Regions from separate parts of the Homo sapiens genome. Here region 1 is linked to region 2. Evidence: promoter capture Hi-C in 16 types of primary human blood cells and fetal thymus (Javierre and others, 2016). All regions are on one chromosome and are shown on one strand. Each heading gives the region's core, a stretch centred on a gene start or on the middle of the fragment in contact. The rest is flanking DNA. Distances are from core to core; before and after follow the strand shown.

Region 1 (6,990 bases), core at 65-2,564, 210 kb before region 2:
CATGTATTGTGAATCCTGATGAAACCACATCAGTGACTATTTAATGCTAATAGAAATGGCCACTTACCGTCTTTCACCTACTGCAATGCTCATCAGTTCAGATCCTCTCATCCTAATCTGATTGCACCGAAACAGTAACTCCCGTAGCTGACACCCTACTGATTTTTTTTGTTGTTCAGTTTTTAGAGGCAGGGTCTCACCCTGTTGCTCAGGCTGGAGGCACTGGCATGATCAGGGCTCACTTGAACTCTTAGGCTCAAGTGATCCCACCTCAGCCTCCTAAGTAGTTGGGTCTACAGGTGTAAGCCACCACTGCTTGGCCAATTTTAAAAACATTTTTGTAGAGACAGAGGTCTCACTGTTACTCTGGCTGGTCTTGAACTCCTGGCCTCAAGCGATCCTCCCCCTTGGCCTCCCAAAGTGCTTAGATGACAGGTGTGAGCCACCATGCCAGGCTCTATTGTGTTTTTCACATTTTCCACTTGCAACATAATTTGCCGTATACATGTTCAACCATCCCACTAAGAGGTTTCATTCAGCCTCAGATTCCAATTTCCTGGGATCCCAAGTGACTTAATTTTGCCAAATCTCCATTTCTTTTCTTTTCTTTTTTTTTTTTTCCTGAGATGGAGTCTCAGTCTGTGGCCCAGGCTGGAGTGCAGTGGCACCATCTCAGCTCACTGTTACTTCCGCCCCCCGTGTTCAAGCCATTCTCCTGCCTCAGCCTCCCGAGTAGCTGGGACTACAGGCATGTGCTACCACGCCTGGCTAATTTTTGTAATTTTTAGTAGAGATGGGGGTTTCACCATACTGGTCAGGCCGGTCTCAAACTCCTGACCTCAGGTGATCCACCCACCTCAGCCTCCCAGTGTTGGGATTACAGGCATGAGCCACCGTGCCTGGCCCCAAATCTCTGTTTCTAAGCCTGCAAAACAGCCTAAAATATCCAGCCTATTAGGAATGTCAGCTAATCCATGAAAGGAGCATGGCGCCATCTCCAGCAAATAACGTGCGATAAAGGTTACGGAGAGTTGTGAGGTTCCATAAAGTGAAAATGATAAGGCTGGGCAAACAGATGTAATCTATAATTCTTCCTGGTGAACAAGTTAGAGCAAGCTTGCATTTTGGGGGATGTTTAAAGCTTCTGCTTTATACCTTTGAGAAACTTGAGCCCTTTGAATTCCTGAGGTAGCACACTACAGTAGGAACAATGCTACCACAGGGAGAGGCCAACAGACTTGGCCATCAACTCAATTGATTAATTATCACTACCATGATTGCACAGATTTGTTACTTTAAGTTGGTTAAAATGAAATTTTAACAAGGTGCTGGATAATTCTTGACACTTATGGAATCATACAACTGGTCTTCTCCTGAAAGTTGGTGCTGAATTAGAACTGCTTACAGCTGGGCATAGTGGCTTACACCAGTAATCCCAGCACTTTGGGAGGCCAAGGAGGGAGGATCGCTTGAATCCAGAAGCTTGAGACCAGCCCGGGCAACATAGTGAAACCCAGACTCTACCAAAAAAAAAAAAAAATCAGCCAGGCGTGGTGGTGCATGCCTGCAGTCCCAGCTACTTGGGAGGCTGAGGTGGGAGGATCACTTGAGCCTGGGAGGTTGAGGCTGCAGTGAGCAGATTGTGCCACTGCACTCCAGCCTGGGTGACAGAATGGCTCTGTCTAAAAAAAAAGAAGAACGAACTTCTAGTAACAGAGGAGTTGACTTCCTTTCAGATTCAGAAATACTATTTGGGATGCAACTTTTTCTCACTAAAATACCTTAAAATGTAAGATGGGCATTAAAATATAAAATGTAAGTTTCTAAAATTCAACTTTAATTTCTAAGTATCTGCCCTGATGCCTGCTAAGAAGCCACACAGTTCCCTGTGATGTTCCTCTCATCTTCATGAGCTGAGTTTGAGAGAGCATCTTTAGATAGCACTTTGTAGCCACACATTACACAGGAGTATTTCAGTGATGATCTTCAAGATGGTCAGGATTATGAGTGCAGAAGAAATTAAGCAGCCAGCACGGGAGGAGGCATCTACACACTCACAGGGTGTGACCTACCAGGTACACCACAAAGATCATATGGCAAAGTTACCTGACATCAAAAGAGCCTGTGTATTCCTGGACAAGGCACGGGGCTCGAGGTGGCAACCCTTCGGGGTCTGTTATTCACACCCTCACCCTGTACCAGGTGGCACCCGCGTCCTTCTAGACTTGGCCACTGCCAGGCCTCTGGAGACGGAGGAGCTGTGACTCCCAGAGGTTCCCATGCTTGCTGGTGGCCTTGGCAGCTGCTAGAAATAGGAAACTTAGCGTGTCATTTCCTAGCCTGGTTCTTGGAACTCGCTCTATACCCTGTGGATGAACAAGTGAAGACGGTGTTTCAGTTAATGCATGTTGGTTTTCTTTCTCAAGCGTTGACTTTCATCTCATCTGGCCCCGATCTAGCAGGCAGAATGGTGTGGAGCCTCCTAGAGAGGAACTCTCAGGCTCACAGTCTGAGAAGTTTACCCTGAATCCACATAATGCCTGTAAGGATATTAAGTATGTTAGAAAACATATGAAAATAGCTAATACATCAGAAGAAAGACATCCAATCTGTTTTTTATTTTATTTTTTTACACAGGGTCTTGCTCTGTGGTCCAGGCTGAAGTGCAGTGGCATGATCATCACTCACTACAGCCACAACCTCCTGGTCTCAAGTGATCCTCCTGCCTCACTCAGCCTCCCGAGTAGCTGGGACTACAGGCATGCACCACCACATCCGGCTAATTTAGAGAAGTTTTTTTTTGTATAGACAGGGTCGTAGTATGTTGTCTAGGCTGGTCTCAAACTCCTGAGCTCAAGTGATCCTCCCACCCTGGCCTCCCAAAGACCCAAAGACTACAGACCTGAGCCACCATGCCCACCTGTTTTCTTGACAGGACTTGCATATGACAAGCTCTCTGCTTCTCCTCACCTATGCATTGCAAGCCAGGTCAGAGGCAGGTTAAACACCTTAAGGACATGTTAGGACAAGTGGCATACAAGGGAAAAAAACCCGTTCATTTAAGTTACAGAAACAGAAAAAAAAAAACTGGCTTATTCCCACACTTACTCTACTCAAAGCTTTGAGAAGACTAATTTTGGCATCCTCTGGCTAAATACAAAACAACAAAACAAAACAAGGCAAACTCTTTCAGCAAGAGCTGTGGGGGAAGGGACTATAAGGGACACACACAACTGACAGGCAAAAGCTCTGAGCACGTGATTGCTAAGTTTAATTCAACTGTTACACCCCATTCTGCCTTGTAAAAATAACAAAACGCTCCTATCAAAATGACATTGTGATGTGAGTACAGGCTTTTTGTTTTGGTACAGCTCTAAAAAATGTTGGCACCGAATGCACTTAAGAAAAGTGTTAAGGCTTAATACAAATACAGAGACGAGTCATTTCTCAATGCAGCTTAGAGGGTGAGAACAGGATGCTAGGTTTTTAAATCTTCCAAATACAGGCAGTCCCCAACGTACAGACATACAGGACACCTCCCAAATGTAAACGACAGCCACACAGCAGGGCTTGCATGCGCAGGAACTCTTCTTCTCCCAGTGAGCAGACTAAGCACTCTGAATCCCACCCCACTGCCTCGCAGAGGGAAAGAAGGCAGGACAGATGCAAGAAGAGTAATGTCAGGGGCTCCATCACAGCTGCCCAGGGGCTTCTGCTGTAGTTCATATTTTCCTCATTCCCATCTCTGGTTTCTCCCATAACCCAGAAGTCCCTGCCAGGGGCGGAAGTAAAGAGCTTTTCCTCTCACCTAGCGGACTGCAAGGGCTGGGAGAATCACAGGGCCCAGTACCGTCACGTCCTATTTCTTCCTGGCAATCTGATTTGGAATTCGTGAATCATTTTCTCAATAAAAAAACAGAAGTTATAAATGGTAGTTCATTTCCACCATTAAACTGTTTCCTTTCAAGTTGCATCAATGACTTTGAAGCACAAACCACCTGAAGTGTGTGTAGAGTCACACAGAGTGTTTCTTGGCTCCAAAGTCTACAGGCAATCAAAAGGGGGAAGCTGTCTTTGGTTGACAAAGCCTTGTGCAGACCCCAGTGTGCCAGGTGTAGGAAGGGGAGCTTGGCAGGCGGCTCCTGCAGGCACTTAAGCAGTGAGGCAGCATGAGCCTGACTGAACATGGCTGCTGCTTTTCTGAAGTTTAATAATGATGATGTTTCTAGCACCAAGCATTAGCTTTGTAGGCACTCAGAGCAAAGCTGCTGCCGCCACCCAGACGTTCTCCTCTGTTAACAGATGCCCACCCAAGGGCAGCATGAGAACTGGGCCTGCAGCCCTTGAGGGGGATGGGCAGAGGCTTCTGCCTGAAGATGAAAGCACCACCACCTTTGCCATCCCATTAGCTGAGTGAGCAAAGCTCAGGGAATTGGACAGGTGTGACTTTGCTACTGAACTCCTTCATCTCCTGGCCTAAGGTCTCTAGTCTCTTCTGGAAGCTTGTTTGTGAGTTAGATCCAGAAGTTCTATAAAGCTTTGTAGAGGGTGGCCTCCACAGCTCTTCTTCCTCTTTGGTGTACCTGAACAATTGACTTTTTTCTGGAAAGGTGTCAGAAACAGACCAGAGTCAACAATCATTTATGTAAAGCTGGTATTTAAAATTTAGCTTTTTAGATATTATTAAAGAATCCAAACCTAAGAACCCAAGGTTCCCAAGCATCTCTTCTTTCCACCAACCAATTAAGGAATAAAGAAAGACACAGGAAGAATTTAAACAAGCCACTTACTCGGAAATATCTGAATAGATTTTTAAAGTCCCGCAGAGGTCAGCGGGCCTCATTTATGGGAAGAACTGTGACTTGTGAAGGGAACTGTCTACATCACTGGAGAACAACAAACGCCTAAACTTAAGGCTGATGAGAGGAAAAAAGCAAGAATTCACAAGCAAAACTGGCATGTAAAGGACCAAGACCAGCCCTGTGTGAAAGACAGGCAGATTCCAACATGAGATCAGATCAGGCCGAGGTTTCAGATGGCAGGAACTGGGCACTTCAGAGGGTCAGGGCACCAAAACAATCTTCCATGAAGTAGAAGACGGATAACTATTATTATTTGGTTTTTTGAAAGCTGCCGAGGAAAAGCAATCAAGATGTTTCAAGAAAAGACTACAGAACAATATGCTGGGGGTAAAATGAAGTGGGGATGCTGGATTTAGCAGCCGTGATCTCCAGAATGGAAGCGGTTCTGCTAAGAGGTCAATATACTGTTAGTGTTTCTGCTTACGCCTCCTCCATCCCACAGCAGCAGTGGACAGGCTGTTTTGGTTTCTTTCAGTCATTCCTAGACATCCAATCAGCTGGCGGGCTGTTGATCCAAGGACCATGCCCTGCCCCACCTCCCCACCCTCACCCCCCTTCCAGTTCCTCTCAAACCTGGACTACACATGAGTGATGGCCAGGGGTGCCCCATTTCATCCCCACAGAGGCATCTCCCAGCCATCTGGAAGGCACGGGTCTCCAAGCAGCTGTCATGACGGCCAGGAGACGCTGAGCAGCCAGGCTCACATAAGACTAACCCTCTTCCCACCCCGCTCATTTGGGCAAAAGGAAATGAAAACATGGCTACCCTATCTCTTGAGTTTCTGGTCTGGCTCCGGGTGGAGCAGTGGCTTCTCTTAGTAGAAGGAGATGCTGGATTTGCCTCCCGGTGGGTTCAGGACCTTGTTGTGAGAGCGAGGCCGCGGCCCCAGCCGGGGCTCATGGCTGTCGACTGTGGGCATGGGCTCCTGCTCCTTGGCGGGGCCTGCTTTTCTGGCGCTGCCTTTCTCACCTGGCTCTGCTCCAGCCGGGATGCTCCTTGCAGCTGTGGGACACAAAGTTAGAACAACATCCCATTAGAGGCAACCCATGACCCTGACAGGCAGGCTGTGGAAATAAAAAGTGTGTCATAGAGCAACCTGCAAGAAATTCATGCTGTAACTGGGAAAGAGAAGACAATATAGACAGGCTTTTCATCTGGTACCAAAACAACTCACTGTAATTAGCAGATGCAGTTTTGAAATGGGCATAAAGTTGGGGCTTGCTACTGTAAATACTCCTTGATTTCTTCCTAAGTGAATTGTTTCTTTATATTGCTTGTTAGACACCACTCCCATTTCTTCCATCTCAAGTATAGAAAGCAAGCCCCTGAGAGTGACCATGAGGCGGCGAGGGAATGCATCCTAGGTGAGGGCTTAGCAAGGCAAAGGCAGGCTCTGTTGCTGTTACCCTGGGCTTTTCAAAGGTGAATGAAATCCCACAAATCTTGGTCATTAGTTAAGGGAAATGGAGACCCAAAGGCAGAAACCGATGCCCATGGTCAGGCTAAAGAGCCGTGGGGAGAGTCGAAGTCTGCCGCTCAACCTGAGCAGTGGCTCACTCCCCCGGGGTGACTCACCATGGAGACACCCGCCTCCCCATCCTCCATCCCTCTCTTGTGCCCCTCTCTTCTCGATTAGTTCTGCCAGCTCTATGCTTGGTCATGAGTTCACTGAAGGTTTGGGATCCCTGCCCATCACTACACAGATGAGCTTCTAGGAGACGACCCCATGGCCCTGGGCCTAGGCTGATGAGCAAGACAACCAAGTCCCAGGGTTTCACCCTAGCCTTCTTCAAATGCTGAATCCTCTTGCAGTGGATACACCTGAGCTCGTTTTAATCAGGTGGCCCAGAAGGTGCAAAGAAAGACTCCTTTTCATTCCCAGAGGAGAGACTAGCAACTCTTCCAGAAATAATGAGGCCACTCAGGAGAAGGGAAAGAAAACAAAAGCTCACCTTTAAGATCCGATTTTGGTTCTTCTCCTTCACATAAGAAAACATGATCCTGCAACAAGGCAAACCACCAAATCAGGACTCACTCAGAAAATTTTACCCTCATTCAAATGGACAATGAAAATCAGGACCATATAACCTTTTAATTTACAAAAATGCTTGTATATCTGACCTCAGG
Region 2 (7,027 bases), core at 840-3,339:
CTGCGTCTGCTGCCGACACTGCGCCTCCATCAGCACTGCCAGCCGGCCCTCGCGCAGGAATCTGGCCAGCAGCCGCGCCATCTTCATCAGCCGGAAGCTGGGGCTGAAGATACGGGCGTGTTGGGCAGAGCCGCCAACCCCCATCCTCGGGGCCCCCTTCCTGCCACAAGGAACCAGCAGCCCGGATTACACGGGCAGCCCCAACAACATAACCAGCGTGAAGTCCAAAACCACAAGCCGGATGGGAAAATCTGTTAATCCATTCCTAAATAACTGCGATTACTGTGTGAGAGCTCTCGGGGCCCTGAGCGGCTTCCCCAACCTGGAGTCTCACTGGACACCCCTCCCCTGCTGCTGACGCGGATAACTCAGTGCTTGCTTTGATCACAGCAACCTCTGAAAACCCAGCTTCTCAAGATGCAGTGTCCCGGCAAGGACTGCAGTGTGATCTGAGGCTGAGCCTGGGAGCCGGCTGGGGCTGGGAGTCCACATGGGACACGTGTCAGTGATGACAGCTGTGCTTCCCTGGAAAACCTGGAACGTCCCCAGCTGACGGGCTGCCTCTGCCGCCTGGGATGTGAACACTCCCACCCCATCCCTCTCTGACACAGCCGGACGGGGAGCAAGTGGGGGACTTTGTGAGACACAGCAGGTGCCTCCCGTCGCAAAGGAGACAGACACAGACCGCTTCTTCTGTTCAGGGGTTCAGCCAGGAGCAGGCTCTCTCTCTAGCCCCTCACAGGGACTAGAGAGGCTCTTGGTCCAGTCCTTCAAGCCACTCTCATCACTTCTGAGGCTACCGGCAACCCCAGGATGGGCCCAGCCCACTCACCCCGCAGCACCCTCGATGGTCTCCATCAACACCAGGAAGGCTTGGTCCGCCGGGCCCTCCAGGAAGAAGCTGGCCCACAGCTCCTCCAGGCGGCCATGGGGCAGCAGCTCCAGCCAGGCTGGGCTCAGCCTGCTGGCAAGACATCTGAGGACAGGCGAGAAGTGGGCCGAGGCAAACTCCTCCTTCTCCCTCGGGAGCGCTGGAGGCTCCATCTCACCGAGATACCGCTTCAGGGACTCCAGGGTGCAGAAGATGTGGCCGCCATCCTCCGAAGACGAGAGGGCATGAATGGCTTCCCGGACGGCGAGTCGAACCTCTGAGGGTGCTGGCTCCATCCTGCAGGACAGATCTGGGCGTCACGGGAAGACGACCTGTGACATGGACACAGGGCTCAGCTTGGGGCACGGAAATAATCCACACAAGCTCAGGAAGCCCCTCGGTGAGCGCCCCGAGACCCCACACCCCTCAACCCTGGTCCCACCCAACCCTGTCCCGCCTCCTTCCCCTCCAGTGCCTGCCGGTTTCCACCCAGAGTTCGCTCCTCCGCTCGGACCCCAACGCTACCAGCCACTGCAGGGCTTCTCAACCCGGGCCACTGTGCCCAGGGAACATTCTCAGTTGTCTCAACCGGGAGTGCCACTGGCGCGAGAGGGAGGTGGAGGCTAGAGATGCTGGTGAGTGTTCCCCGGGCACAGCGCGGCCCCACGCGTCCTCGCACCCAAGGCGGGAAACTCGGCCCGCGGGAGCTGCCGGCCCTCCCGGCTCCCTGAGCGGTGAGAGGTGGCTCCAGTCGCCATTCCTCCGCCCCTTAGAAACCAACAGCTTACGGGGAACACGGGTTCGGGGCTAGAGGAGCCGCACGCGGACCCGCCCCCGATCCAGGCCCGGACCCCGACCTGTACCCGGACCCCGACCGGACTCCTACCCGACCTGGACCCGACCCAACCAGACCTGGAGCCCAACCCGACCCAACCGGACCCCCGATCCCCGATCCCCGACCCCCAACCCGACCTGGACCCGGCTCCCGGGTGACTGCAGCGCGCTCAGGCGCCGCGCGCCACCGATTCGCTGCAGCCGATTCCCCACGGCCGCCGCGGCCCCGGACGAAACGCGATCGCGGCCCAGCCGGTTGGCCCCGAGCACGAGTTCCTGGGTCCGGGCGAGGCTCCCGCGGGTTTTCTTGAGCCTCTGGGGCGGGTCTCCGCGGGCCTCTCAGCGCGAATCTGCGGAGGACGCCAGGCGGGAGGGCGCATCTGCGCCTGCGCTGCGCGGGGACGGGGCGGAGCCTGGACGCGGGAGCGGGGGGCGGTGGGGTGGGCGGGGCCTGACGCGTGAGTGGGGCGGGGCCTGAGGGCAGGGCCGCGCTTCCCCACGTGGCTGCGAGCTGGGTTCGCTGCGCCCGGGTGGTGGGTTCTCGCCTTAGTTTCTCCCATCTCGGTCGTCCCTACCCTGGAGTGATGTCAGCCGTCTCTTCCCTCCGCCTCGGGTCCCACATTCTCTCCAGAACGCCGAGCGTTCGCTCTAAGGCAGATGTTTACCAAGACAGGCCTGGCTCGTCTTCCCCGGATGTAAGGCTCTGCTTTCAAGGGTCAGAGGCCAGTAAGGGAAACGCACGGTACACAAGGAAGTAAAAGAGCAGTTGAGATCATGTCAGATCTGAACAATTGCAGCTCCGTAAATGAGGCCGGGTCGTGGAATAAAAACTGCGACCAGTAGGGTAAGCGCTAGACGCATGTGGCTCTGTAAATTAACTGAAGTTAAATAAGTCCAGTTCCCTTGCAGCACTAGCCCCATCTCAAGGGCTCGGTACTACCTTTGGCTGTGGCCGCCAGGCTGGACAGCCGGACACTGAACATTTACAACATGCAGTGCCTTCTGTACACCGCAGCGGAGTGTGGGGGGCTTCATCTTTGTGGAGGGGGCAATCCAGGAAGACACCTAAAGAGGCGCCATTTCAGCAGTGATGGATGTGGGAAAAGCTGGGGAACAGTTATCCATTCAACAAACATTGATTAAATGCCTGCTTGGTGCACCAAGCCTTCTGAGCAACAAATGATGCAAAGTTCCTGCTCACCTATCGGGGGAACAGATAAAGTACATACGAAATATGCCAGGTGACAGGCCTCGAGCAGAAAAACTGGCAGAGGCCGGGCCCGGTGGCTCACGCCGGTAATTCCAGCACTGGGAAGCTGAGGTGGGAGAATCGTTTGCACCCAGAAGTTCAAGAATGGGAAAAATAGTGAGACCCTGTCTCTACAAAAAATTTAAAAATTAGCCAGGCACGGTGTCATGAGCCTGTGATCCCAGCTACTCAGGAGGCTGAGGTGGGAGGATGGCTTGAGCCCGGGAGGTTGAGGCTGCAGTGAGCCATGTTCACTGCCACTGCACTCCAGCCTGGACAACAGAGCAAGACCCTGTTTCAAAAAAAAAAAAGGAATCAAAATAAAAAACCGGTAGGGTAAGAAAATAAGAGCCAGTGGCCGGGCACAGTGGTTCACACCTCTAATCCCAGCACTTAGGGAGGCCGAGACGGGTGGGTCACAAGCTCAGGAGTTCGAGACCAGCCTGGCCAACATGGTGAAACCCCGTCTCTCCTAAAAAAAGAATAATAATAATAATAATAGTAATACAAAAATTAGTTGGGCGTGGTGGCATGTGTCTGTGATCCCAGCTACTTGGGAGGCTGAGGCAGGAGAATTGCTTGAACCCAGGAGGCAGAGGTTGCAATGAGTGGAGATTGTGCCATTGAACTCCAGCCTGGGTGACAGAGCGAGACTCCTCCAAAAAAAAAAAAAAAGAAAAGAGCCAGAGAGCAGTGGGTGCTGTCTTACGTAAGGTGAGAGCTCTGAACAGAACACCTTAGAGCAGAGCCCTGAATGTGTTGACAGCCAGGGAAGAGTCTCACTGGCAGGAAAACGGCAGGTGCAAAGGCCTGAGGCCGCAACTGTTGCCCGGGAGGTGGAGCCGAGGGAGGCATATGCAGGGGTGAGGCCTGGAGGGAGTGAGGCAGTGGGCCAGGCCACAGAAGGCCCTCGCAGGGACTAAGATTTTGCTTGTGTGGCAGGCATCTCCTGGAGCCATTGAAGGCACGGGTCCATGCTGGTGCAGTTAGGAGAGCAGACGGTAGGGGGGCGACACGGACGAGGGGACTAGGTGGCCATTGTGAGGATGAGCTTGGGGCGGAATGGGGGTGTAGAGAAGCAGCTGAACTCAGGGCATGTCTCTGCAGGCAGAGCTGATGGATGGGATATGGGGCAGGCAGCATCCCATCATCCCGGAAACTCCTCCTCCGTCCGCTGCTGGGTTCCAGCCCTCGCCAGTGCCCACGGCAGCTCCGTCCTTCCCTATTCCCTTCTTTTCCTGAAGCCCCGCATCCAACAGTGGGTGCTTGGAGGACAAATTTCTCAAGCCTTTGTGTGTCTGAAAATGTCTTTATTCTTTGCTCTGTCACCCAGGCTGGAGTGTAGTGGCGCGATTTCAGCTCACTGCAACCTCCTTCTCCCCGGCTCAGGCGATCCTCCCGCCTTAGCCTTCCAAGTAGCTGGGACTGCAGGTGCACACCACCACGTCTGGCTGATTTTTGTAATTTTAGTAGAGACGGGGTTTTGCCATGTTGCCCAGCCTGGTCTCGATCTCCTGGACTCAAGTGATCTGCCCACCTTGACCTCACAAAGTGCTGGGATTACAGGAGAGAGCCACCACACCCTGCCCCGACCCACAACTTTAAATGGAAATCAGGCAGGCTCAGTGGCTCACGCCAGTAAACCCAGCACTTTGGCTAGGCTGAGCTGGGAGGATTGCTTGAGCCCAGGAGTGTTTGAGAACAGCCTGGCAACATAGCAAGACCCTTCTCTACCGAAATAAAATAAATACATAAATAAATGGAACTCACTGTCAGTTGGAAGCTGCGAGATCCGCCGCTCTGTGTGTGGCACCAGCGTCGCTGTCCTGGTGGCTGCCAGTCCCCCGGGGCCTAAGGCCCCAACCCCGTCCATGTGCCCAGGATGTTCTCTCCGATGCTTTCTGCATCTTCTCCATGTCCATGGTGTTCTGACGCTTGACAAGGGGAGCCTGGGGGCCACCGATGGTTTCCTGGCCTGGCACCCTCTTGGCTCATGCCACCTTGGGAATGATGGATGCCCCCAGTGGGACAACTTTGTGGATGATCTTATTCCCATGAGCTGGGCGGCTTGAAACAACAGAAATGAGTCCTATCACAGTTCTGGGGGCTGGAAGTCTTGAAGTGAAGGTGCACACTCCCTCGAAGGCTCTGGGCTGGGGGTTCCCACTTTACCTCTTCCAGCTTCTGGGGCCTCTGGGGGTTCCTCGTGGCAGCGTCACCCCAGTCTCTGCCCCATCTTCACAGGCCGTGTCCTCTGTGCCTCCTCCTCTGTCTCTTGTACCCCTGTCATTGGCTTTAGGGCCACCTGGATAATCCAGGATGGTCTCATCTCAAAATCCTTCATGACATCCGCAGAGACCTTTTCCACATAAGGCCCTGCCTGGGGCTTATGTGTGTTTTTAGGAGGGTCTCATTCAAGCCAGTACACAACCTGTAACCAAAAATACCAGCCTGGCCCACATGGGGCAACCCCGTCTCTACTACAAATACAAAAATTGGCCGGGCGCGGTGGCTCATGCCTGTAATCCCAGCATTTCGGGAGGCTACAGCGGGTGGATCACCTGAGGTCGGGAGTTTGAGACCAGCCTGGCCCACATGGTGAAACCCCGTCTCTACTAAAAATACAAAAATTAGCCGGATGTGGGGGCACATACCTGTAATCCCAGCTACTTGGGAGGCTGAGACAGGAGAATCCGTTAAACCCAGGAGGCGGAGCTTGTGGTGAGCGGAGATCGCACCACTGCACTCCAGCCTGGGTGACAGAGCAAGACTCCGTCAAAAAAATTAATTAATTGGCCAGGCGCAGTGGCTCATGCCTGTAATCCGAACACTTAGGGAGGCTGAGGCAGGCAAATCATGAGGTCAGAAGTTTGAGACCAGCCTGACCAACATAGTGAAACCCCATCTCTACTAAAAATACTAAAATTAGCCGGGCATGGTAAAGCACGCCTGTAATCCCAGCTCCTCAGGAGGCAGGAGGCTGAGGAAGGAGAATCGCTTGAGCCGGGGAGGCAGAGGTTGCAGTGAGCTGAGATTGCGCCATTGCACTCTAGCCTAGGCAACAGAACGAGACTCCATCTCAAATAATAATAATAATTAATTAATTAAGGTGGCTCCCAGTCACATTTCCATTGCTTTACTGAGAGAGACGGGGCCTCCCAGGATGCAGCCGTGCACGGCCTGGGTGATGGGTGCCTGTGCAGACCTGGCTCTGTTGACTCCCCAGCCCCCGTCGGGTTCCCTGTCTTGCTTCGACTTCTCGGGAGCACAAGTCCATGTGCTCCTGTTAAAGCCATCGCCTCCTGCCCGCGGGCTTGCACCCAGCTGAATGATTCTTCAAAGAAACTGTTTGCATCTGTTTTAAGCTTGTCTCCTTAGGAACCTGCAAGTCTCAGAGCCCACTGGCTTGAAGGCAGATGCCTTTCATGGAGGCGGCAGGAAGAACCTGACATCCAGCCAGGGCCAAAGAAGGAAAACCACTCAACAGGAGAGCTGGGGGGACGAGACACAAGACAGACCCACGGAGCCACCTTCACCCTCTCCTGCGGCTGGAGGGAGACTGCTGGGGCCTTGCCGTCTCTCCGGATGGGTTGCTCGTGGAGGAAGACCTTGTCTTTCTTCCTTGTTTTTGTGCCTATATATCTACATGGGGCTTCATCGCAGGAAGCCGCCCCAGTGGGGCCCAGGAAACCGTTTTTCGAGAGGCTCCGTAGGCTGGAGGAACAGGCAAGTTATACCCCTGACATGGCGCAGTCGGGTTTTTAAATTGGCAGCAGATGGAAGACGGATGTTACAGAAGCAGATTGGTAAACATCAGGGCTTGGCGGACACGAACACCGCGTGTGACGCTCTTTCCATCCATGAAGATTATTTCACCTGCAGTTGGACACCAGGGAAGAGCTGAGCTGGGCTCCACTCACACAGGACACAAGCCTCATAACATGTGGGGGTCAGGTGGGGCCAGAGGCTAGAAGGGGGTCTGGAAGGGAGTCAGGGGAACTGGGGGCCATGGGGGCCGGGTAGTGTCATGGGGAGTGGAAACTGGGAGGTCACAGGTCCACCTTGTGGCAGTC

Evidence for each region. The method cuts DNA at HindIII sites, captures the fragments that hold promoters and counts their contacts. A CHiCAGO score of 5 or more calls a contact.
Region 1: a contact is called between a fragment that was not itself captured here and the fragment with the promoter of TELO2 in region 2, in 1 of 17 cell types (endothelial precursors). The highest score is 5.5, in endothelial precursors.

Annotation. Positions count from the first base shown.
Region 1 is chr16:1,697,686-1,704,675 of GRCh38, reverse strand. It overlaps JPT2 (Jupiter microtubule associated homolog 2), which reads right to left. Exons shown (of 5, transcript NM_144570.3): 4 at 6,816-6,864; 5 at 2,590-5,865. The coding sequence ends at 5,678. Among named protein-coding and RNA genes, the nearest start is that of MAPK8IP3, 5.0 kb to the left of the region's middle. The HindIII fragment of the contact is 341 bases long and covers 1,144-1,484 here.
Region 2 is chr16:1,488,422-1,495,448 of GRCh38, reverse strand. TELO2 (telomere maintenance 2) reads right to left here and starts at 2,089. Exons shown (of 21, transcript NM_016111.4): 1 at 1,844-2,089; 2 at 833-1,203; 3 at 1-103. The coding sequence starts at 1,167. It overlaps PTX4 (pentraxin 4), which reads left to right and starts at 6,505. Exons shown (of 3, transcript NM_001328608.2): 1 at 6,505-6,680. The coding sequence starts at 6,540. RefSeq lists enhancers at 1-482, 1,384-2,284, 2,382-2,431 and silencers at 1,652-1,851, 1,862-1,911, 2,082-2,171. The HindIII fragment of the contact is 10,177 bases long and covers 1-6,321 here.